7 separate regions of the Homo sapiens genome follow, and all the other regions are linked to region 4. The links are contacts of gene promoters, found by promoter capture Hi-C in blood cells and fetal thymus (Javierre and others, 2016). All regions are on one chromosome and are shown on one strand. Each heading gives the region's core, a stretch centred on a gene start or on the middle of the fragment in contact. The rest is flanking DNA. Distances are from core to core; before and after follow the strand shown.

The links. The method cuts DNA at HindIII sites, captures the fragments that hold promoters and counts their contacts. A CHiCAGO score of 5 or more calls a contact.
Region 1: a fragment that was not itself captured here is called in contact with the fragment with the promoter of LINC01548 in region 4 in 9 of 17 cell types (M2 macrophages, M0 macrophages, M1 macrophages and 6 more); the score reaches 10.4 in M2 macrophages.
Region 2: a contact is called between a fragment that was not itself captured here and the fragment with the promoter of LINC01548 in region 4, in 1 of 17 cell types (M1 macrophages). The highest score is 5.5, in M1 macrophages.
Region 3: a contact is called between a fragment that was not itself captured here and the fragment with the promoter of LINC01548 in region 4, in 12 of 17 cell types (M1 macrophages, M2 macrophages, M0 macrophages and 9 more). The highest score is 12.0, in M1 macrophages.
Region 5: a contact is called between a fragment that was not itself captured here and the fragment with the promoter of LINC01548 in region 4, in 17 of 17 cell types (M2 macrophages, M0 macrophages, M1 macrophages and 14 more). The highest score is 32.8, in M2 macrophages.
Region 6: a fragment that was not itself captured here is called in contact with the fragment with the promoter of LINC01548 in region 4 in 9 of 17 cell types (M1 macrophages, M0 macrophages, M2 macrophages and 6 more); the score reaches 10.9 in M1 macrophages.
Region 7: a contact is called between a fragment that was not itself captured here and the fragment with the promoter of LINC01548 in region 4, in 3 of 17 cell types (M1 macrophages, M2 macrophages and M0 macrophages). The highest score is 7.8, in M1 macrophages.

Annotation. Positions count from the first base shown.
Region 1 is chr21:32,816,394-32,819,547 of GRCh38, forward strand. No RefSeq gene overlaps it. Among named protein-coding and RNA genes, the nearest start is that of EPCIP, 4.3 kb to the left of the region's middle. The HindIII fragment of the contact is 6,390 bases long and covers 1-3,154 here.
Region 2 is chr21:32,743,239-32,746,312 of GRCh38, forward strand. PAXBP1 (PAX3 and PAX7 binding protein 1) reads right to left here. Exons shown (of 18, transcript NM_016631.4): 12 at 2,336-2,480; 13 at 1,554-1,675; 14 at 440-516; 15 at 10-76. Among named protein-coding and RNA genes, the nearest start is that of PAXBP1-AS1, 17 kb to the left of the region's middle. The HindIII fragment of the contact is 627 bases long and covers 1,165-1,791 here.
Region 3 is chr21:32,854,855-32,857,940 of GRCh38, forward strand. No RefSeq gene overlaps it. Among named protein-coding and RNA genes, the nearest start is that of EPCIP, 43 kb to the left of the region's middle. The HindIII fragment of the contact is 3,094 bases long and covers 253-3,086 here.
Region 4 is chr21:33,168,880-33,172,031 of GRCh38, forward strand. It overlaps LINC01548 (long intergenic non-protein coding RNA 1548), which reads right to left and starts at 1,357. Exons shown (of 4, transcript NR_024102.1): 1 at 1,262-1,357; 2 at 817-954. RefSeq lists an enhancer at 569-638. The HindIII fragment of the contact is 7,514 bases long and covers 1-3,152 here.
Region 5 is chr21:32,837,005-32,840,124 of GRCh38, forward strand. No RefSeq gene overlaps it. Among named protein-coding and RNA genes, the nearest start is that of EPCIP, 25 kb to the left of the region's middle. The HindIII fragment of the contact is 1,145 bases long and covers 747-1,891 here.
Region 6 is chr21:32,798,007-32,800,931 of GRCh38, forward strand. All of the region lies in intron 3 of EPCIP (exosomal polycystin 1 interacting protein), which reads right to left. Among named protein-coding and RNA genes, the nearest start is that of EPCIP, 14 kb to the right of the region's middle. The HindIII fragment of the contact is 8,647 bases long and covers 1-2,925 here.
Region 7 is chr21:32,774,316-32,777,495 of GRCh38, forward strand. All of the region lies in intron 1 of EPCIP-AS1 (EPCIP antisense RNA 1), which reads left to right. Among named protein-coding and RNA genes, the nearest start is that of EPCIP-AS1, 3.8 kb to the left of the region's middle. The HindIII fragment of the contact is 1,765 bases long and covers 839-2,603 here.

The sequences.
Region 1 (3,154 bases), core at 242-2,741, 350 kb before region 4:
GACTGAGTTGTTGACTGGTTGTGGCCAATATGGCATGGCTCAAGAGCTGAGGACTGTGGCACTAACTTCCTGTTGGAGAATGTGGCCTCTTAATTCAGCAACTTCCTGGTTGTGGATGAGGTAGTAGCTCCCCATGATGGTTCAATTCTATGGTGACTTTCAGAGTTCAGTCTAGAATCCATTTCTTCAGTCCTTCCAATGACTCAAGGCAGTATCTGTATATCTGAAGAAATTCCTGGTTTAAACCAGCTAGAGTAGACTCTGTTGCCTGTAACCAAGAACCCTGAATTATATACTAGTGCCTTAATTCTGTCCAATACAAGGTGACAGAGTTTGGATATATGTCCCCGCCCAAATATCATGTGGAATTGTAATCCCCAATGTTGGAGGTGGGGCCTGGTGGGAGATGATTGGATCATGAGGGTGGATTTCTCATGAATGCTTGATGCTGTCCTCACGATAGTGAGTTCTCATGAGATCTGGTTGTTTAAAAGTGTGTGGCACTTCCCCACACCTACTCCTGCTTTCCCCATGGGACACACCTGCTCCCCATTCACCTTCTCCACGATTGTAAGTTTCCTGAGGCCTCTTCAGAAGCCAAGCAGATGCTGCTATGCTTCCTGTACAGCCCACACAACCATGAGACAATTAAACCTCTTTTCTTTATAAATTACCCGGTCTCAGGTATTTCTTTATAGCAAGGCGAGAATGGCCTACTATACAAGGTAAGTGGAAGTTTGCTGGTACTGTCTCTTCTACTTCTTTATTTTAATGACTAAGATAAACAGCATAAGGTATTTAGTGTAAACTGAGCACAAATAAGGCAGCCAGTAATGGTAGCTACTATATTGATTACTCTTTGTGACTTTCTCTATTTATGACTCGGATGCCTTCCAGGACCTCTTGCTTAGTGGGGTTCCTGGCTGAAGGCAAAGAGTGTGAAGAGCCAGGTACTTCCCTGGAAACTTGAAGGCCAAACATGCAGCTGCTGATGGAATGTGGCTGGGGCCCTGTGTATGGCATGTTAAACATTTACCCCAGGTTTTATATCTCCCTGTCTTTTTAAAGCATTTACTTCCACTGGCTCTTTGTGTTAACCGGTCACATAGTTTAAGTTGATTTAGCAGCAATGAGTATTGGGAAGGTTAATAAAACCACACCTCAGACTGCCTGTTTTGTTCAGCTGTGGAGCCAACGGGTGGTGGACAAGTGTTTGTTCACAATGAGATGGAATTCTAGCTTTGTCCTTGACCAATTTTGTTTTCTTTCTCCGTTTTATTTTTTATCATAAAAGCAATGCAGTTTTTCTGATAGCACATTCAGATAATATCCAATGTATTAAGCAAAAGTGAAAATCCACACCCCCCTCTACAACTGATCTTCTGGAAATAATGTCTGGTGTAAGTCTGCAGTGAAGCAAATCTTGCTTGATTGTTCACTAACGTGTTCCTTAAAATCTTTTACCTTGGGCCTGGCATGGTAGCTCACATCTGTAATCCCAGCACTTTGGGAGGCTGAGATGGGAGGAGCACTTGAAGATAGGAGTTTGAGACGAGCCTGAGCAACATAGTGAGACCCTGTTTCTGCAAAAAATAAAAAATTAGCCAGGTGTAGAGGTGCCCACCTATAGTCCCAGCTACTCAGGAGGCTGAGGTGGGAGGATCTCTTGAGCCCAGGAGTTTGAGGCTGCAGTGAGCCAAGATCGCGCCATTGCACTCCAGCCTGGGCAACAGAGCACGACCCTGTCTCTGAAAAAGAAAAAAAAAATCTTTTACCACAAGGCCTCAAATTCCACTGTTTCTGACACCCTCTCTTCATGGATTCTCATCTGGATTCTCTACCACCCCCTACTTAACTGCCTCCAAATCACTACCAGTGTCTTCTATAAGTGTTTCTTCCATCTGGGGCAGGAGTCATCTCAGGGTCTCTCTTTCCTTCCCAACTTCCCTTCCCCTTCCTTCTTTGGCAACTTTAACATCTGTATTCTCAGCTCACTGCAGGCCGTCAGCACTCATGTCCTCACCTCATGGCCTTGCTGGGCCCCAGAGCTTGTGCAGGGCTCTATGTGTGTTCCTTCTCCCTGCTCCATCCTCACAGTGTCTCTAGATATCAGCGCCTCTGGCTTTACCTCTTCCATCCACCCTCAGCTCCCTGCCCTGCTGCATCCACACTGCCCTGACCCCTACCGAGGTGACCCCTACCTATGACCTTTGCCCTCTGCAAAGTCCACTCTGGGTCCTCTCATGGTCTGCTTCCTCAGCATCCACTTTAGGGTACAGGCACTCATGGAGAAAATGCAGAGAACTAAGAATTCCTAATGCTTGGTTTCCTGAGAACCCCTGATGTGATCCCGGAAGTCTTCCAGCGGTTCTGGCCCAGTGGCTGCAATAACTCTTCTCCACTTGTGTCAGATACTCACTGCTGTCACAGCATCCCTGGCCTCGTGAGAAGGCCTTGCATCTGAGAGGAGCCAGGAATCGTACCAGGGCTTTCTTACCATCCTGCTCACACCTATATACTCCTTAGAACATGAACATCTTGGATCAGACACCTCGTAAGCACTGCCTCAGCTCCTTTCAGCCACACCTGTCTTTGATTCCAGCCGCCACTGTAGTGACAGTTCTGCCATGAGCCTGACCAGCTGCATGTAGAACTAACTTGCAAGCACCTCTCACCTCCCATCCGAAGCCTTCTCTGTCATCTCTGCAGCCTGGGACAGACACTGCAAACACTCCTTAGTAGTCTCATGAATGCAACCTGAAGTTCCGGGGACTTAATGCCTCCATGGAGTGATCCTTTGACCAATGGGGGATTCCTCCTTTCTCAATCCAGGCAGACAGTCCTGAGATGCGTGCCTTGTGGCTTCTCAGGTGGTTCACAGAATCAAGCAGTAACTTACCTTGCGCTGCCCCTCACCGCTTCCCTCTCCCTCACTCTTGCTTCTAGGGATAGCAGTTCCCAATACAGTGCTTGCATATATGTATATATATGCTTTTCTGATGTTCTACTCTCTGGGAAAATCAGGCTAAGCCACATTCTTTCTTCTTTCCAGATTCTAAAATAAATTCTTCTACCTGTGAGCTAAAAGCAGCCCTTCCCAACTCCTGCGTTTCTTCTCTAGTGATGGCCTCATCTCTTCCAATAAGTAGAATCT
Region 2 (3,074 bases), core at 228-2,727, 430 kb before region 4:
GACACGTACCTTAACTGAAGACCAAAACTGTCGTTGAAAAAACAAGTAAGGCCCAGAATTTTTATTTTCTAAGACACTAAGTAAAAAAAAGAGAAACATATCATGATCAGATATTTTATATGTAGGTGCCATATGATTCCTGGACAAAAGATTTTTCTACAAAACAGGTAAACAAAATAAATTTTTAATTTTTCAAATAATTGCATTCTGGAAGATAGTATGTTAAAAAGGCAATGGAAATTTATTCTGAGACACTCAGGGAGAACGTAAGAGTATTGTTTTATTCTGCTTAAGGGAACAATCTCGCCACTAATCTAGTCTCTCTGTAATACACTACATGGGTGAAGTTTGTATTTCAAGCTAGTTTTTCAGAATTTTATAAGCCTTCTCTGAAACACAATGGAGAATATTATCTTTAATGTTCTTCAGAGTTACTTACTTTTTGGGATATAAGGGCATAAATACATCATCATCTAAAGTTCTTCTCATTCTCAATAAAAGTGCCTTTAGGTATACCTAAAAAGTTAAAAGTAGATCACACATTTTAATAAGGACTATGACAAGAAAAATAAGCCATATTCCAAATCATGTAACTGAATATTGAACTGAGTGAACTAGTTTCTCAAATTTTTAATTTTCCTCATTGAAGACCCTAAAGTAATTAATACTTAATAATCTATTAGTTCATTCCTCAACAACTGCCAAGCAATAAAGCTTTAGAAATCTTTCAATTCCTTAGTCTACATAAAGATTTAAGACCAGACACATAATCTAGCTCTCAAAGTGAAAATTCAACAATGACAAAGAGCACCCACCTTCTCTACATTTAAACAGCTTCTATGAATGGCCCCTGAAGAGCATTAACTTTAAGTTTGGCAACTAGTTATAAAACAGTATCTAGTTGTTTTATATGCTGTTTAAATGGTTTGGGTGCCCAATCTTTTGGCTTCCCTGGGCCATACTGGAAGAACTGTCTTGGGCCACACATAAAATACAATGACACTAATGACAGCTGATGAGCTAAAAAAAAAAAAAAAAGAAAAAAAAAAAGGAGGGGGGCGGGGTCTGTGCATAAATTTCATGTATTAAGACAGTTTACAAATTTGTGTTGGGCCGCATTCAAAGCCGTCCTGGGCCACATGTCCATGGGCCACGGGTTGGACAAGCTTAAATTATCAATTGTTAACATTTTGGTTTCTCATTTCCCCCCAGAAAATACAGTCTTTAAAAGGACATTTGATTAGTTGGATTGGGACTGAGGTGTGGTGGTGAGAAATCATAATGAAAGGCTATTTAAAATGATGACATCTTCCTTCCATATTGATTTTTTTAAACTGAAAACTAACATCTCTCTGCGGGACTAGGTATAAAAAAAAGAAAAAAAAAACCTAACATCTCAAATTTTGTGTATTTCAGGCTTTAATGGCCCTGATGGCCCAAGTGGGAGAACCAGATTTCTGATTGGTTTAGGATAACCACTCATTCTCTCAATGCTTGCTCATATTCAACAGAAAGAGGAAAAAAAAAAAAGGCTTCAAAAGATACTAAATTACCTGTGTATTTTTATTTTCTGCATTCACTACTGAAGGATATCCATTGATTAATTTTAGTGTAATTCCCACCATTCTTGAAGTCTGTGTTGTAGAAAAAGGGTCCCACATATTTTCAGCTATCACTATTAAGAAAAAAAGAGGATTGAGACACAGAAGCCAATTGTACCTTTAATTTTTTGTCAAGCAGACCTCTATTAATGCCAATCCTAATTTATTTTTCCTCTTTTTCTACAATATAAGCTTTAGTCTTCTTTGTCCTATTAACTGTGGGAATTTGGAGGGATAGGGATGTGGAGAGAGGATAGATTATTCTTATTTCTGGTACTCAGGGAAAATAAAGATTAGGAAAAAAGAGGATTTCTGTAGAAATGTTGTCTTGGCATCAAGAATTTCAAACTAACATTTCTAGTATTTAAAATAGATTCCTGTATCAATGATTCCTAATCTTTTTTGAGGAACTTATGAAAGCATTTTAATTGCTCCCCACATAAATGCATATCCTCCTCCCTCAAACTCTGTATAATTTTGCTTCAGTCAGTCTTTGAATTTCTAAACCTCACCTATGAAGCAATTACTGCACTCAACTACAGGCCCACCCTAAAGTGGTCTTCAAGTCCCAGGATAAGAACCCCTCTGCCCTCTAGCCATCTCTGGGCCAGGTGGTAACTATTATTTCTCATGTAATTTCTATAAGGAAACATGCTCTGAATTATAAACTCATAAAAATAGATTTGAGAAAGCCAGTGTGTCTGAATGCTCAATTCAGAGAACAGGAGATTTACCTGTTAGTTTAGGAAGAATCACCTTTTCCACAATGGTAGGTAGTAGGGCAACATCTACATCATCTTTTTCTTGCTCTCGTTCTTCACAACCATAAAACAGCAAAGATTCAAACCACAGCATATTCTCAAAGTCACGACATTTTGCCTAAAAGACATTTAAAAGGTTACCCAAATACTAAAATAGTGGCTATTTCTGCTTCCAGCTATGATAAGAGAAACAAGAACTGGATTTAACCTTTGGTTGCAAACAACTAAAAACTGGACGGCTGGAGATATCATGCTACCAGACTTCAAACTATAAGGCCACAGTAACCAAAACAGCATGGTACTGATACAAAAACAGACACATAGACCAATGGAACAGAATAGAGAACTCAGCAATAAGACCGCACACCTACAACCATCTGATCTCCGACAAACCTGACACGAACAAGCAATGGGGAAAAGATTCCCTGTTTAATAAATGGTGTTGGGAGAATTGGCTAGCCATATACAGAAAATTGAAACTGGGCTCCTTCCTTACACCATATACAAAAGTTAAGTCAAGATGGATTAAAGACTTAAATGTAAACCCCAAAACTATAAAAATCCTAGAAGAAAATCTAGGCAATACCATTCAAGACATCGGCATGGGCAAAGATTTCACGACAAAAACACCAAAAGCAACTGCAACAAAAGCAAAAATTGACAAATGGTATCTAATTCAACTAAAGAGCTTCTACGCAGCAAAAGAAACTAT
Region 3 (3,086 bases), core at 550-3,049, 310 kb before region 4:
TGAAACTCTGTTCCAGAAGTAATCTTAGATAAAACTTTTCAAAGCTGAGCTCAGCCATGGGTTTATACCCTCAAATACCTATGATTTGGGTAAATTCCTCTCTTCCTGAGGTTCTAAGAAAGCTTGGGGCTGCTGGGCCTGTTAGAAAGTGACATTCTTTACTCACCACAGGTTACGAACCCTGTAAAGGAACTGTGTAGACAAGGTGTGAGGCCAGGTTTCCCAAGGGGCTTTTATTGGTTCTGCAAGTCAAGCTTGATTCCCTAAAGGAAAGTACATCATTCCAGTCAAAGCCTTGGCAGAACAACCAGTTTCTCCAATTGAATATTGTTGCAAAAGAAAATGGATTCTTATTGCACTGGTGCAAATAACTATATTGCCGTAAGTTAAGGATACTCGCAAATAGTTTCCAAATTCTAGAGAAACCAGGCAGAGAGAAACAAATATGCTCCAAATTTTGTTCACAGTAGTATACCTTACTCAATTGTTAAAAGTTGTAGATAGCTCAAAAGATTCCTTGACTCTGAAAAACAAAACAAGGATCAGCAATGTTTTAAGCAAAATTTTGAAAACATTACTTCAGTTTTCTATTGATTCAGTCCAATATCTGCTTGATATTCATGAACATTTCAGCTCTTCATGAGTCCTGAATGTTTTTCCTTTATTCCAATGTCACAATCTCCAAAGATATCAGGAACCTGCATTTAAGAGCACCTGTCAAAGTTCTATAGCTGATTATCAACCATCTTTTGAAAAGGAACAATACAAGACAACAATTATCTGTGAATGACAAAATGTTCAGGCTAGTTACAGTTAAAAACTTGATTGACAGAGAAATTTGGCTACTTGTATGGTTTACAATAACTTAACATAATAACCTTAATTATGATTGATAACATATACTCAGACATTAGAATTTTAGAAATCCTATGCAATTTTGGAACATACATTAATATTATTCACCAAAATAGAACCTGAAAATTAAATGTTATTTTTATTTTGGCAATCCCATGTAACTAAACATGTCAAATAATCCTGTTTACCTCTCTTTTGGATGTTCCAGGGGCCCTCTGTAGCATCCAAAAGTTAGGGGCTAGAAAAGACAACCTTGAAGCTAAAGTTTGATTTTTGGGGAAGCCTACAAACATGTTAAAGGTTTAAAACATTTGATATTATGCAATAGAATTCCAGGTTACCACAAGTCATTTATTTAGCCAAAATAATGATTTAAAACATTTTTAAAAAGGCAAAAACCTTTACATACTAAGAGGGAAGACTTAGCTTTCCAAACAATCTGTCTTGTCTTCCTCCCTCCTTTATTTGAAACCTTATAGATAATTCTATCCAATCTTAACCAGTTTGACCATGAGGTGAGGTTCCTATAAACCTTTTATAACCCTTTACAAATTTTTGTTAAAGAGCAGATCAATACATTAAGAAAACCCTGTTATGCTTTAATTCCAATGCTTGATTTACGGAAAAACCAAATCATACCCTTTTGAATTTAGTTGATCTCAAATGAAGTTTCTTTTACAAGATTAATTTTTACCAACCTTTCACAACTTCTTTAAACCTTTAGCTTTATCTTATCTGATTTAAAACAATTCTTTAACCCTCTAAACTAGGCAAAAATTTATATTCCCATGCCTTCTTATAATATTTTACCAAAAATATATTTTACTTTCTTTACACACCTTGCATGTAAATCTATTTTTAGTAGTCCCAATTATGTGTTATAATGGTAACTCTTAGCAATTTTTAATTTTAGTGTAAAACCTGGTAAGCTGTTTTAATTATGTACTAGGTGCAGCTAAGATCTGACACTTTCCAGTATAGTAAGAGGTATAGTTAACTCCACATGTCCCAAGGCCTTACCAAACTGTAAAGCAGACAAGCCGAACAGTTTTCAAAATCCAAAGAAGCAGTTTATGACCTTAGAGCATTTAGCAAACCTAATATCTGAACATAATTTAGACCACATGTTTACATTTTGAAGACATTTGTATTTTACCAATAATCTTTAAAACTGTTTTTATTTCTCAAAGATTAAAGTCATGTGAACTAAATGGCATTACAGCTTTTATTTTTCCTTTAAAATTTTTGATCTAAGCCTTTATTTTCTTTAAGCCAATTAATTAGAGCTCCTTTTTATACAGACAGACAGAAGAAGATCCAGTAGTTGTAAGATTTTTCATCTGCCAGTTTCTTAATTTGATTACTGGCCTCAGGGTGGAGCCCTTCAAGAGCAGGGCTAGGAAAGCATGCAGTTTCTAGGGCTAATAAACAGGCATAGCAGGAAGACAAATACAGATTTTGAGAGGGTTCTATCCACTTTTAATTCCTGGTGTTCCATGAGGAAAACACAGGTTTTTGCCCAAAATGGGGTCCATGGCACCTTTTCTGTTTTTCCCAAGCCATCCCAGGCTATCAGAAGTTGTCTTAGGGCCTCTCATGTGTGCATTAAGGGTGGCAAGACAGGCTCGGTGGCTCACGCCTGTAATCCCAGCACTTTTGGAGGCTGAGGTGGGCAGATCACAAGGTCAGGAGATCGAGACCATCCTGGCTAACACGGTGAAACCCCATCTCTACTAAAAATACAAAAAATTAGTCAGGCATGGTGATGGGCGCCTGTAGTCCCAGCTACTCGGGAGGCTGAGGCAGTAGAATGGCGTGAATCCAGAAGGCAGAGCTTGCAGTGAGCCAAGATTGCGCCACTGCACTCCAGCCTGGGCAACAGAGCAAGACTGTGTCTCAAGAAAAAAACAAACAACAACAACAACAAAAGAGTGGCAAGACAAAATGGAGAAAAATAATTCAGGTGACTGAGAAGAAAGAAAACTTTTTCCAGCAAAACAAGATCCAAGAAGAGAAAAAAAAAAAGCATAAAGGCCTTTCAAATGTACATATAGCTTGGATATCCACTTTTAATTAAGGTGACTTTTAGCTGTAGCACTCTTTAAAAAATTCTTTTAATTCCCTTATTACCCAACTTTAGCCATGCCAAGCAGCTGATATTTCTGACTTTTGAACTTTACCAAAATTAACCTCACAGGTGAAACCAACAAACCTCAACTAAGGTTGATTTA
Region 4 (3,152 bases), core at 107-2,606:
CCCCTGGAGACCCCCTGAGGAAGCGTGTGAAAGATGCCTCAGAATTGTCCACCCAAGACATGGATGGAAGACAGATGAGCTCATCAGCTCCTGCCCCTATTGGTCAAAGTTTTCCCCCAAGGAAAGCCACCTCCCTTGAGCTTCCAAGTTTACACACAAGCCAGTATAGCTAAGCAAGTCCCCGCAGGCTTGGACAGAAAGCCTGCCACAGCAGATACCCACTGCCACAGCTGTCAGGTGACAGCTTGTTGCGGTTGTCAGAGCAACGCCCAGGAGCAAAAAAGGCGAGCCAGGTCAGGCGCAGTGGCAAACTCCTGCAATCCCAGCAATTTGGGAAGCCAAGGCAGGAGGATTGTTTGAGGCCAGGAGTTCAAGACCAGCTTGGGCAAGAAAGAGACCCCTGTCTCTACAAAACATAAAAAATTAGCCAGGCATGGTGGTGCGTGCCTGTGGTCCCAGCTACTCAGGAGGCTGAGGCAGGAGGATAGCTTGAGCCCAGGAGGTCAAGGCTGCAGTGAGCCATGGTCGTGCCAGCACACCCTAGCCTGAGTGATAGAGCGAGACCCTGTCTCTAAAAACTTAAAGAAAAAAACGGTGAGCCAAGAGCATGTGAAAGGAGCGTGAAAGGAGCATGAAAGGGAGGTGGGCAGAAGAAGCTGGTTGGATAGAGGAAGTGAAAGGAAGAGGCGCATTTGTACAGACAGCCGCCCTTCTGGACCGAGTAACCACGTGGAGAGTGGTTCTCCATCCACCCACATAGGACGCACAAGGAAAAGAAGAGGTTCCCAAAGATAAGGGATTTCATGGGGAAAATACCTCATCGAATGGACTGCGACCCTCAAGGGAAGATGTTCCATAAGCTCGGCGCGAGTCAGGCAGTAGGGAGAGGTCTTGAGATCACAGGTGAAGTGAAGGCTCCCAGGAAGGGTGATTGCAGGGCGAGGGCCTCCTGACCTGGAGACAGGGCCCCAAGGAACAGTCATACGAAGAGGGCAGAGGACAAATGAAGAGGGAGTGGACAGAAAGAGAAATGGGAGGAGAGCCATGTGCCAGGAGCCAAGTGATTTAAATGCAGGTGTAGTGCCCTGGAGAGTTCCATGTGTAAGAACAAGTAAATCATTGTTGCTTACCTCTCCCTTGAAAAAAAAAAAATACCCTGCTTCTTGTCCTAAGTTCCCAGGCTCTCTTTTTGCCTACTCCCTCCCCAGTTGCTGAGTCCAGTCAACCCTCCTGCTACAGTATCCCCTATAGCGCCATTCACCTGCCCTCCTCTGCTCCCTTGGCCAACATCTAGGTTCAGAACCTCATTGTCTCTCTTCTGGTCTGTCCTGCCTCCTCCTCCCTCTGCTGCTGTCCATCCAGGTGGATTTTCCTAAAGGGAAAAGGTGCACTTGAGGGCAAATTTCTCTTGGCCATGCACTTAGGAGGGGGATTTCTGGGTAAAGGGGTAAGTTCACTGCTTTTCTAATTCTCTACTTTTTCCTTATCCTCACCCATAAATCTTACAACCCCCTTGAAGTGCAATAACTTTATTTCTAGGACCTCTCAGAGCCTTTGCCTGTGCTGTTCCCACTTGCCGGGAATGCCTTTCCCTTCATCCCCAATAGTTCAAGCCCCACCTTTTCCTGAGCCCAGCTCAGATGCCACCCCCTCATCCAGGAAGGCCTCCTTGATACCTCCCTACCAGAATTAATCTCTCCTTCTCTTGTGGTCTGAAGACTCTTGGCTTTCTCCCCTGTCCTATTTTTGCTTGTTATCACTGACATTGCTTTACACGCTTTTTCTCCTCTGCTGGGAGCAAGGGCAGTTTCTATGTCACAATGCCCCACTATGCCCATTAAGCTACAGTGCACATGGTACCCATCCCGAGACCAACATTCTTTTTACACTTCTGTGCTTCTGACCTAGGAAAGTCTTACTTTTCATAGAGTGTCATAGCTGAGTTGGAAGCTCTTTTCTTAGAGCCTCTTAAAATAATGGCGTGCCTTATAGTCAATGATCTCTTACATTCCATTAAATACAGTAGGAGATGTTCAACCAATATTTGCTAAATTGGAGGAGTTAAAGTCATTTTGAGTAGGAGAGGGAATCTAGACCCACTATTTGGATTAGTACAGATTTTAGTGCAACTCAGGGCTTCTGCAGAGCCCCTCCAGCTTTCACCTGTCCACTTAGTTGATGATGAGCACGCCTGCGAACTCTTCACACTTTCCAAACCCACCAAGGCAGCTTCTCCCGTAAGGACATGTTTCTTACCTTCAAGACCCCTGTTGCCTCCAGCAGCAATCTCAGTAATGACGTCTACTTCTGTTTCCTGCTTCCTTCTCCCTGACTCCTGCTTCCTGGAGTCCCCTCAGATAAACCTCCTGTGCCCAAGACCTTGTCAGGGTCTGCATTTACGGGAACCCAACTAAAATTCCAGGACCACCATATAAAGGTCCCTTTGTCGGGGGCTGGGCCTGCTCTGGATACGGTAGGGAAGTGGCTCCAGGGTCTGCGGCCAGCGAGGAGAGGGTCCGGCAGTCACCAGTGGGAGCTGTTTCCTCCCGTATTCCTCCCACCTGTCCCTACCTGTCCTGCTGGCGGGGTAAAGAGTGGGATTTACCTCGTGACAGCTGCCTTACAGCCCCATGAAAAGGCACTTTGGGCTGCGGTTGGGGGGAGCGCATCTCCAGGGATTGCAGGGTAGGAGGACAAGAACTCTCCCTGGCCTGGGAGTCAGGGAAATGGAGAGATCAGAGCAACACAAGTGCTGGGAACAGATGGGGCTTCCTGGGCTCCAGCGCTAATTAACCAGCTCTGCAGCTCAAGGCCTGGGCCTCATGATAGTAGTCTGAGGGCCCCTGGGGTGCAGGGTTGAGCACACAAGGCTGCACACAGGCAGAGGGAGAGGGGTGATCCCGGGAACAGCCATCCCTCCATTCCCTAATCCAGAGGCCGCTGCCCTTCTTGGGCCAGAGAGCAGCAGCTTCTAATACAGATCTGGGCTTCTCACTCAGCAGGTGCCAGGGACCCAAGGAGACAAATGGAGGAAAAAGAGTGAGGAACTCCTGCCCCAAGGAGGCCGCTGCCACCGCCCACTGGCCGCATGCCAACTGGACCCCAGATGATAAGCGTGAAACTCCCAGAGGTTGAGATTGGGAGACTCTCCT
Region 5 (3,120 bases), core at 69-2,568, 330 kb before region 4:
TGTAAATATGGGGAAAATTATTTGCAGATTACATCATTATATATCTCTAAAATCCATATAAATCAATTGAAAAGCTGTTAGAAATAATATGACTAAGTACCTGGTTATAAAGTTAGTTATACAAAAATTAATAGGCTTTTTCTGTACATAAATATAATGGGATGAATTGATCAATTTCAAGTCTGATTGGCTGGATGATTTTTTTTTCCTCTGCAAACCAGACCTTCTCTGCCTCTGAGCAGTGGTCTGTAACAGGATGAATTTCTGTTGGATCAGCTGAAGTGGTGGCTTGGGCAGTGAGGCAATTCTTCATCAAGACATACCTTTTTGTTGCTTCTAATTACCTGCTGGCAGGAACTAAAAGTGTGTCTCTTGTATGCATGCCATGTGTGTAAAATTAGAGTCTTTGAAATTGTTCAAATAAAGAGGATTAGTTATAGTTGTAGGGAGATATAAAGACTAAGCCAAAAGAAGCAGAGTTTATCTGCCTTCACACTTCACCCATCTGTTAACCCGGCTGAGACACATTTTCTTGTAGCATTAGTATTTTATGCACTGTTTTTCTTGATATAGTAACAGATTTAATTCATTCTTTATGGTAATAGATCCCTTGTATCCATAAAGAAAGAACATATTCCATCATTACCTTAATATCATGTCTAATACAGAGTGGCCGTACAATTGGAAAGTTATTTCTCAGACCACTAAACTTACACATAAATGTTAAACACTGTATATTACTTTTAAGCTTACTTTTGATCTGCTATCAAACCTAAGAAGTTGTTTTATTTTGATTAACTCTATATAATAGTTAATTTTTTTCCTCTAAAATGTGTTTTAAAGGCTGAAGCTGTATTTGACATCATTTTTAAAGCTATGTGATTTATTCTTTTTTATTCTCCACTGTCAAATATACATATTTGAAGATATGTATGGTAATACCATTTTCAAGCACTAGCTAGTTTAAGGAGCATAGAGCATGGTAAGTGATATAAAACTTCATTCACCCATAAACCCCAAACCCCTAGTACTGAATGCCCACATATATCATCCTTACTATCAGAGAAATTATGTTTATAACATATGCTGAGTTCAAGACCAGCCTGGGCAACATGGCAAAATCCCACCTCTATGAAAAAATATGAAAATCAGCCAGGTGTGGTGGCGCACCTGTAGTCCCAGCTACCTGGGGGGCTGAGATGGGAGGATAACCTGAGCCCTGGCAGGTCAAGGCTGCAGTGAGCCATGATTGTGCCACTGCATTCCAGCCTGGGTGACAGAGTGAGACCCTGTCTCAAAAAAAAACAAAAGAGAAAAGCATTCAGCTTTTTGCTTCCTACATGTATGTCACCACATAAACAAAGGAAAGTGAGACTCAAGTTACCGTAAAAGAGTCCTTCACTGGAAGCAAATCCTCAACTGTTTTAGAAAAATGAGTTTATGATCATTATTATTTTGCTAAAAGGATTCTTTATTTCATCACAGGAACCTTCTACTAACCCCCTTTAGTCTAAAAAAGCTCTAATCTATAAAAATTAAAAATATATAGATCAATTTGATCCTTATAGTTTATCCATCCAATAATTTTTTGGTTAATATTTGCATGGCAGATAAATCTTTACTTCCCTTATTTCTACCTCCTGTATTGAGTGCTCAATCAACTTTTAAATAAATTATCACATGTATATATACATAATAAGATTACTTAACATTCCTATGTTGAATTTTGAATTTGTTTCATTTGTTCATTCATTCTTACATCCAACAGATATGGATTGCAAACCTACTACATGGCAAGCATAAGTGCCCCGGGGTTATGGCAGTGAACAAAATTCTTATCCTCATACAGTTTATCTTCTGATTTGGTGGATATGAGAAACTGGTGAACTTAAGCTTAAAATCAATCAGATGCTGAGTTTGTTATTAAAAAACAGAAAAGAGAGCTCAGGTTAAATACATGCACTAGCTAATCTAAATCTTTCTTGGAAGTAGACTTGGTACTAGTCTCTCAATTATCAATCATTTGGGCATTCTGTGATGATTTTATTATATCCTTAATTGCATTGCAGAAATGGAAAAAAAATTATCTCTTCCAATTGCCGTTCCCATCTGATGAGTCCTTCATGGGAGCAACAAGCAGCTGATTTGCCATCAGCTTTGTACCAGTGTAGGGGCTATTTTGGCAACAACATATGCTTTGGTGTCAGAGTAACTGACCTTCGAATCTTAGCTCTTACTATGATATTGGGCTAGTTACTTGATTTCTCTGAGCCCATTCTTCCATCTGTTAAACAGGCATATTAATCCTGCTTTAAAGGAGTATAATTCAGATTAATGAAATAATCGGTGTATAGTACCTGGCAGGTCAGAGCTCCCCTACCCAAGGTCCCCATTTAGTGGCAGAGCCAGGATTAGATCCCACATCACCTCACTCTGGTGCCAGTCCTTGTCTCGTACCATGTTTACATTTAATAATCTCTGGTGATTTTACTCACATGACGAGACAATAGATTTATTCATCATTTATTAAGAAGACATTGAGTTCTTTGCTGTGCTGCCTCTTTGACCTCTCTGGGCCAAAAATGAGGGAGTTGTATGAGGCTCCAGGGTCTCTTTTAACCATGCACTTCTATGACTCTATGCAGGGTGGCCAACTGTCTTGATTTGCCTCAGACTCAGGGGTTTCCCTGAACAGGGACTTTCAGTACTAAAACTGGGAGAGTCAGAGAAAACTAGGATGGTTGTTCACCATAACTCCAGGATTCTTCCACATTTGGTTTATTCCATCAGCTTCCCTGATATACCTCTGAATACCCGAGATTGGACATAATCCTGCAAAAGAATTCAAACATCAAGTTAGCGAACAGAGCTGCAGCCATGTGGCCTCTCCACCTCTTCATTCACTCCTTCTTCTGCCTCTGCAGTTTCCTATCTGGGTGCTGCTTTGGGAAACTGTTTTTAATCATTCATTGCTATGGTTTTAGTTTTGGTGGCTAGCCAGAGAGCAGCTGATCAGCCATGTCAGCAGACTAAGGAACACTCACAGATATTTTCTTCTCTGCAAGGCTTGATGTCTCCGTTTACCTTGGGAAGAAAGCAGAATGTTCACAATCTCACTGC
Region 6 (2,925 bases), core at 102-2,601, 370 kb before region 4:
GAAAAAATAAATAAATAAATAAACCTCTCTTTAAATAGCACCAGGCTGCTGGGTGTGGTGGCTCATACCTGTAACCCCAGCACTTTGGGAGGCTGAGGTAGGAGGATTGTGGGAAGCCAGGAGTTCAAGACCAGCCCAGCCAACATTGTGAGACATAATCTCTACAAATAAAATAAATTAGTTGGACATGATGGTGTGCACCTATAGTCCCAGCTACTCGGGAGGCTGAAGCAGAAGGATCACTTGAGTCTGAGAATTCGGTGTTGTTTAAGCCACCCTGTTGTGGTATCTGCTATGGCTGCACAGGCAGAAATAGGGACACAAGTGCAGGTTCAGGGCAAGGTGTGTGAGCACACTCAGTCCCTGGCCTCGGAGTCTCTCTGGATGGCTTCTTGCCTAGGGTGACTGACAGAGGGAGGGATGATATGCAAAGGCACCTGTTCTCCTCATGACCTAACCCCAATTCTTACTCCACGGGTTCATGACAGCCTATTCTGCTGGAGACTGTGTCTTAAAACTTCCTCCCCTAGTTTCTCTCAAGTACCCCTCGTGAGCTGTGATTTCACTGGGCTTTGAACTCTTAGGCCATTTGAGGCTGCAGTGAGCTATGATTGTATCACTGCACTCCAGCCTAGATGACAGAACGAGACCCCATCTCTAATGAATAAATAAATATGGCTGGGCACAATGGCTCAGGCCTGTAATCCCAGCATTTGGAAGACCAAGACAGGCAGATCGCTTCAGCTCAGGAGTTCGAGATCATTCTGGCCAACAAGGCGAAACCCTGTCTCTACCAAAAATACAAAAATTAGCCAGGCAGGGTGGCATGTGCCTTTAATCCCAGCTACAGGGAGGCTGAGGCAGGAGAATCACTTGAACCTGGGAGGCAGAGGTTTCAGTGAGCTGAAATTGTGCCACTGCACTCCAGCCTGAGTGACAGAGTGAGACTTTGCAACCAAAAAATAAAATAATAATAATAATGAAATAAATAACCAAATAAGTAAATAAATAAATATTAGGAGGCAAAAATACATTGGACTCCTGAGTCGTACACTCAGCTTGGGAGCCAATGAATGGGATCAGCCCCACTGCAAAGAGTGGACTGAGAGGGTAGAAGGATGGTTCTGCAAAGGGAAATCAGGAGGCGCTATCAGAAAAGGGCCAGGTAGGCAGTCAGAAAGGTGGGTGCCCACAAGACCCATGGGATGAGCATGGGTGAGCATTGCAACTCTACTCCTCTCAGTCTCAGCAAACACTAAAGCACCACTTTGATAAAATGCCCTCTAAGAGTGCAGATATATGTCTGACTTTGTGGGATATATTCAGATTTTCAAATTGGCTCCTTTACTGGAGGGCCCCTCGATTTTACCACCCAAGAATCTTCAAGGATTTTTGCAGGGACACACTTTGGGTACTGCATTTGTGAGCAATAGCCCTGCTTACCTCTCCAAGTCCTGGCTTCACAGTGTGTTCCTTGGGGTGCCCGGGCCCTAGCTTTCTTCTGGCTTTAACCCCAGAGCCATAACTCAGATCTATACTTGAGACTGCTTCTTGCCAGGGCATCTTCTCAGCTTCTGACTCTTGAGCCTTTCACAATTTTCTTCTCTTGAGTCTTTCCCCTAATTGCATTTCCACTTTAAAAATAAAAATCACAGCCAGGCATGGTGGTTCACACCTGTAATCCCAGCAGTTTGGTAGGCTGAGGGGGGCAGATCATTTGAGGTCAGGAGTTCAAGACCGGCCTGGCCAACATGGGGAAACCCTGTCTCTACTAAAAATACAAAAATTAGCCAGGTGTGGTGGTGCACACCTATAATGCCAGCTACTCAGGAGGCTGAGGCACGAGAATTCCTTGAACCCGGGAGGCAGAGGTTGCCGTGAGCCGAGATCGCACCACTGCACTCCAGCCTGGGTGACAGAGTGAGTGAGACTCTATCTCAAATAATAAAATAAAAACCACTTTTGATTTCAAATTAAGCTCACTTCCAAATTACGTTTTTAAATTGCTTTTGATTTTTAATTGCTATAAGGATTTGGAGAATGTCACTTGATTTTTCCACAATTAGTTATTTGTCTTTTGTGTTAGGACTATAGAGCTCAGAACATCATTATTTATGACATTTCAAATCTGTTTTGGGCAAATGCTCCAAATGCTGTCCTCCCACTGACACAATATCTCCTTACTAGTAATATCTTCTTATAAACAGAACTAGTCAAGTTTGAAACATTCCTTTTGAAGCCAAGTATAAACATTATCTAAATGTTGGGTGTAATCCTAGATTGAGAAGGAATCTGTGTGGAATTTGTTTTGAAGTAACTGATGTCTGTATCTCCTCAATTTAGAACCCTCTGTCTTTATGCAGCTAGTTGCTAGTATTGTTCTTGAGATTTCTTCAGCTGCAATACAAAAATAATACTCAAACTGATTCTGAATAGTAGCTCTGGTTTTTAAACATGTCCAGTGATTTAAAGGCTCAAATATTTAATAATCATGCACAAAGGCTCAAATATTTAATAAGTAAGCACATAGGCCGGGTGTGGTGGCTCACGCCTGTAATCCCAGCACTCTGGGAGGCCAAGGCAGGTAGATCACGAGGTCAGGAGTTCGAGACCAGCCTGACCAATGCGGTGAAACCCTGTCTCTACTAAAAATACAAAAATTAGCTGGCCATGGTGGCATGTGCCTGTAATCCCAGCTACTCAGGAGGCTGAGGCAGGAGAATCGCTTGAACCCAGGAGGCAGAGGTTGCAGTGAGCTGAGATCGCGCCATTGCACTCCAGAGTGAGACTCTGTCTCAAAAAAACAAAAAAAAAACCAAAAAAAAAAAAAACATGCACAGTTTTTAGCATCTTGACTGAAAAATTTGGATGTGTAGACATCCCCTGAGTATTTGTCATGGTTGCATCAAGCTACTTATTGCGTCT
Region 7 (3,180 bases), core at 471-2,970, 390 kb before region 4:
TTTTCTTCTAGTTAATAGGAAGGGTTAATAACATCTGGCTTCCATTCTACTTATGTTACTCTCAGTTCTTATATTCTGGCTGTTCAGCATTGGTGTAAGTTCTGATTCCAACAGTGTTTCACTAGTGAAATTGAACTCCCTTTTCTAATCATAGAAGATTCAAATTGTGCCTGATCAGCCTCCAGACACCTGAGCCAAGAGAAAGATTTGCAGTAAAATAATTAGGGTAGAGGTAGCAAAGACAAGGTCCAGAAGCCAAATATGTTATTATGGTGGCCTGAAATTTCAAAAATTTCTCCCAGTGTAAAAGTGGTGATTGGATATGGATAGAGGGAAGAGTACCTCTCATTTTAAAGTAAGCCACAATACAATCACTTGTCACTTGACGGGGATACATTCTGAGAAATATGCCATTAGGCAATTTCATCACATACTTACACAAACCTAGTGGTGTAGCCTACTACATACCTAGGCTGTATGGCATAGCTTATTGCTTCTAGGCTACAAACCTATACGGCATGTTACTGTACTGAATACTGTAGCACTTGTAACACAATGGTATCTGTATCTAAACATAGAAAAGATACAGTAAAAATACAGCATAAAAGCTTTAAAAATGGTGCACCTGTATAGGACACTTACCAGGAATGGAGCTTACAGGACTGGAGGTTGCTCTGGGTGAGTCAGTGAGTGAGTGGTAAGTGAATATGAAGGCCTAGGTTATTACTGTACACTGCTGTAGATTTTATAAACAACTGTACACTTAGGCTACACTAAATGTTTAAACATATTTCTTTCTTCAATAATAAATAGCTTACTATAACTTTTTTACTTTATAAGCTTTCTTATTTTTTAAAACTTTTTTGTTGTTATTGTTTTGTTTTGTTTTTGTTTTTTGAGATGGAGTCTCACTCTGTCACCCAGTCTGGAGTGCAGTGGCGCGATCTCAGCTCACTGCAACCTCCACCTCCCAGGTTCAAGCAATGAGACAGAGTCTCACTCTATCCCCAGGCTGGAGTGCAGTGGCGTGATCTCAGCTCACTGCAACCTCTGCCTCCCAGGTTCAAGCAATCCTCCCACCTCAGCTTCCCAAGTAGCTGGGATTATAAGCGTGCACCACCATGCCCAGTTAATGTTTGTATTTTTAGTAGAGATGATCCGCACACCCCACAAGCTCCTGTGTTGGCCAGGCTGGTCTTGAACTCCTGACCTCAAGTAATCTGCCCACCTCGGCCTCCCAAAGTTCTGGGATTGCAGGCATGAGCCAACGTGCCCAGACATTTTTTAAAACTTCTTGACTTTTTTTTTTTTTTTTTTGAGACAGAGTTTTGCTCTTGTTGCCCAGGCTGGAGTGCAGTAGTGCAACCTCAGCTCACCGCAACCTCTGCATCCAGGGTTCAAGAAGTTCTCCTGCCTCAGCCTCCTGAGTAGCCGGGATTACAGGCATGCACCACCACGCCCAACTAATTTTGTATTTTTAGTAAAGACAAGGTTTCTCCATGTTGGTCAAGGCAGTCGCAAACTCCCGACCTCAGGTCGTCCACCTGCCTCAGCCTCCCAAAGTATTGGGATTACAGGCGTGAGCCATCGTGCCCGGCATAACACTTTGCTTAAAAAAATACACATTTACAGCTGCACAAAAATATCTTCTATTTTTACCATTTTAATTATTTTGTTTTACTTTTTAAACTTTAAAGCTAAGACACAAACACACACATCAGCCTAGGCCTACGCAAGGTCAGGATTATCAGTGTCACTGTCTTCCACTTCCACATCTTGTCCCACTGGAAGGTCTTCAGGAAAAATAACAAACATGGAGCTATCATGTCCTATAAAAACAATATCTTTTTCTGGAATACCTCCTGAAGGACCTGCCTGAGGCTCTTATATACTTAACTTTTTTTTTTGTAAGTAAAAAGAGTGCGCTCTAAAATAACAGTAAAAAGTATAGTATAGGCGTCCCCAACCACCTCCCACCCCTGCAGGAGGCAAGTGGCCAAAGGTAGACATTGTTCTCTCTCTTTTTTTAAGTTTATTTTTAAAATGTTAGAAGCCACAAAGCCAATAAATATGTAAAAAATATTCTATATACATTAGCTGATGTCTTAGTCCATTTGGGCTGCTACAACAAAATACCATTAATTGGGTGACTTATAAACAACAAATTTATTTCTCACAGCTCTGGATGCTGGGAAATCCAAGGTTAAGGCACTGGCAGATTTGTGTTCCGGTGAGGGTCTGCTTCCTGGTTCATAGATGGTACCTTCTAGCTGAGTCCTCACATGGTGGAAGGGAGACAACTGTGGTTTCTTCAGCTTCTTACCAGGGCACTAATCCCATTCATAAGGGCTCCACCTTTGTGACCTAGTCACATTCCAGCATCTCTACCTCCTCTGCTATCACACTGGGGATTAGTGTTTCAATATATACATTTGGGGGGAAGATAAATAGCTGGGCCTTAACAACTGATGAGGCCTCACTAAATATGCGAGAAATAAGATAAAGCAGGGGTCCCCAACCTCCAGGCCACAGACTGGTACCAGTCAGTGGCCTGTTAGGAACCGAGCTGCACAAGAGGAGGTGAGCGGCGGGTGAGCAAACAAAGCTTCATCTGTATTTGCAGCCACTCTGCATCACTCGCATTACCACCTGAGCTCTGTCTCCTGTCAGATCTGCAGCAGCATTGGATTCTTACAGGAACACGAACCCTATTGTGAACTCTGCACATGAGGGATCTAGCTTGTGCACTCCTTATGAGAATCTAATGCCTGATGACCTGTCACTGTCTCCCATCACCCCCAGATGGGACCATCTGGTTGCAGGAAAACAAGCTGAGGGCTCCAACTGATTCTACATTATGGTGAATTGTATAATTATTTCATTATATATTACAATGTAATTGTAATAGAAATAAAGTACACAGTAAATGTAATGCATTTGAATCATCCTCAAACCATCCTCCACCCCCTAGTTCATGGAAAAATTGTCTTCTATGAAACCAGTCCCTGGTGTCAAAAAGGTTGGGGACTACTGGTATAGCAAATACATAAACCAGTAACATAGTCATTTATTATCATTATGGAGTTTTATGTGGTATATGTAATTGTATGTGCTATACTTTTATACCACTGAAACAGAGGTTTCTTAATACCAGCATCACCACACACATGAGTAATGTAT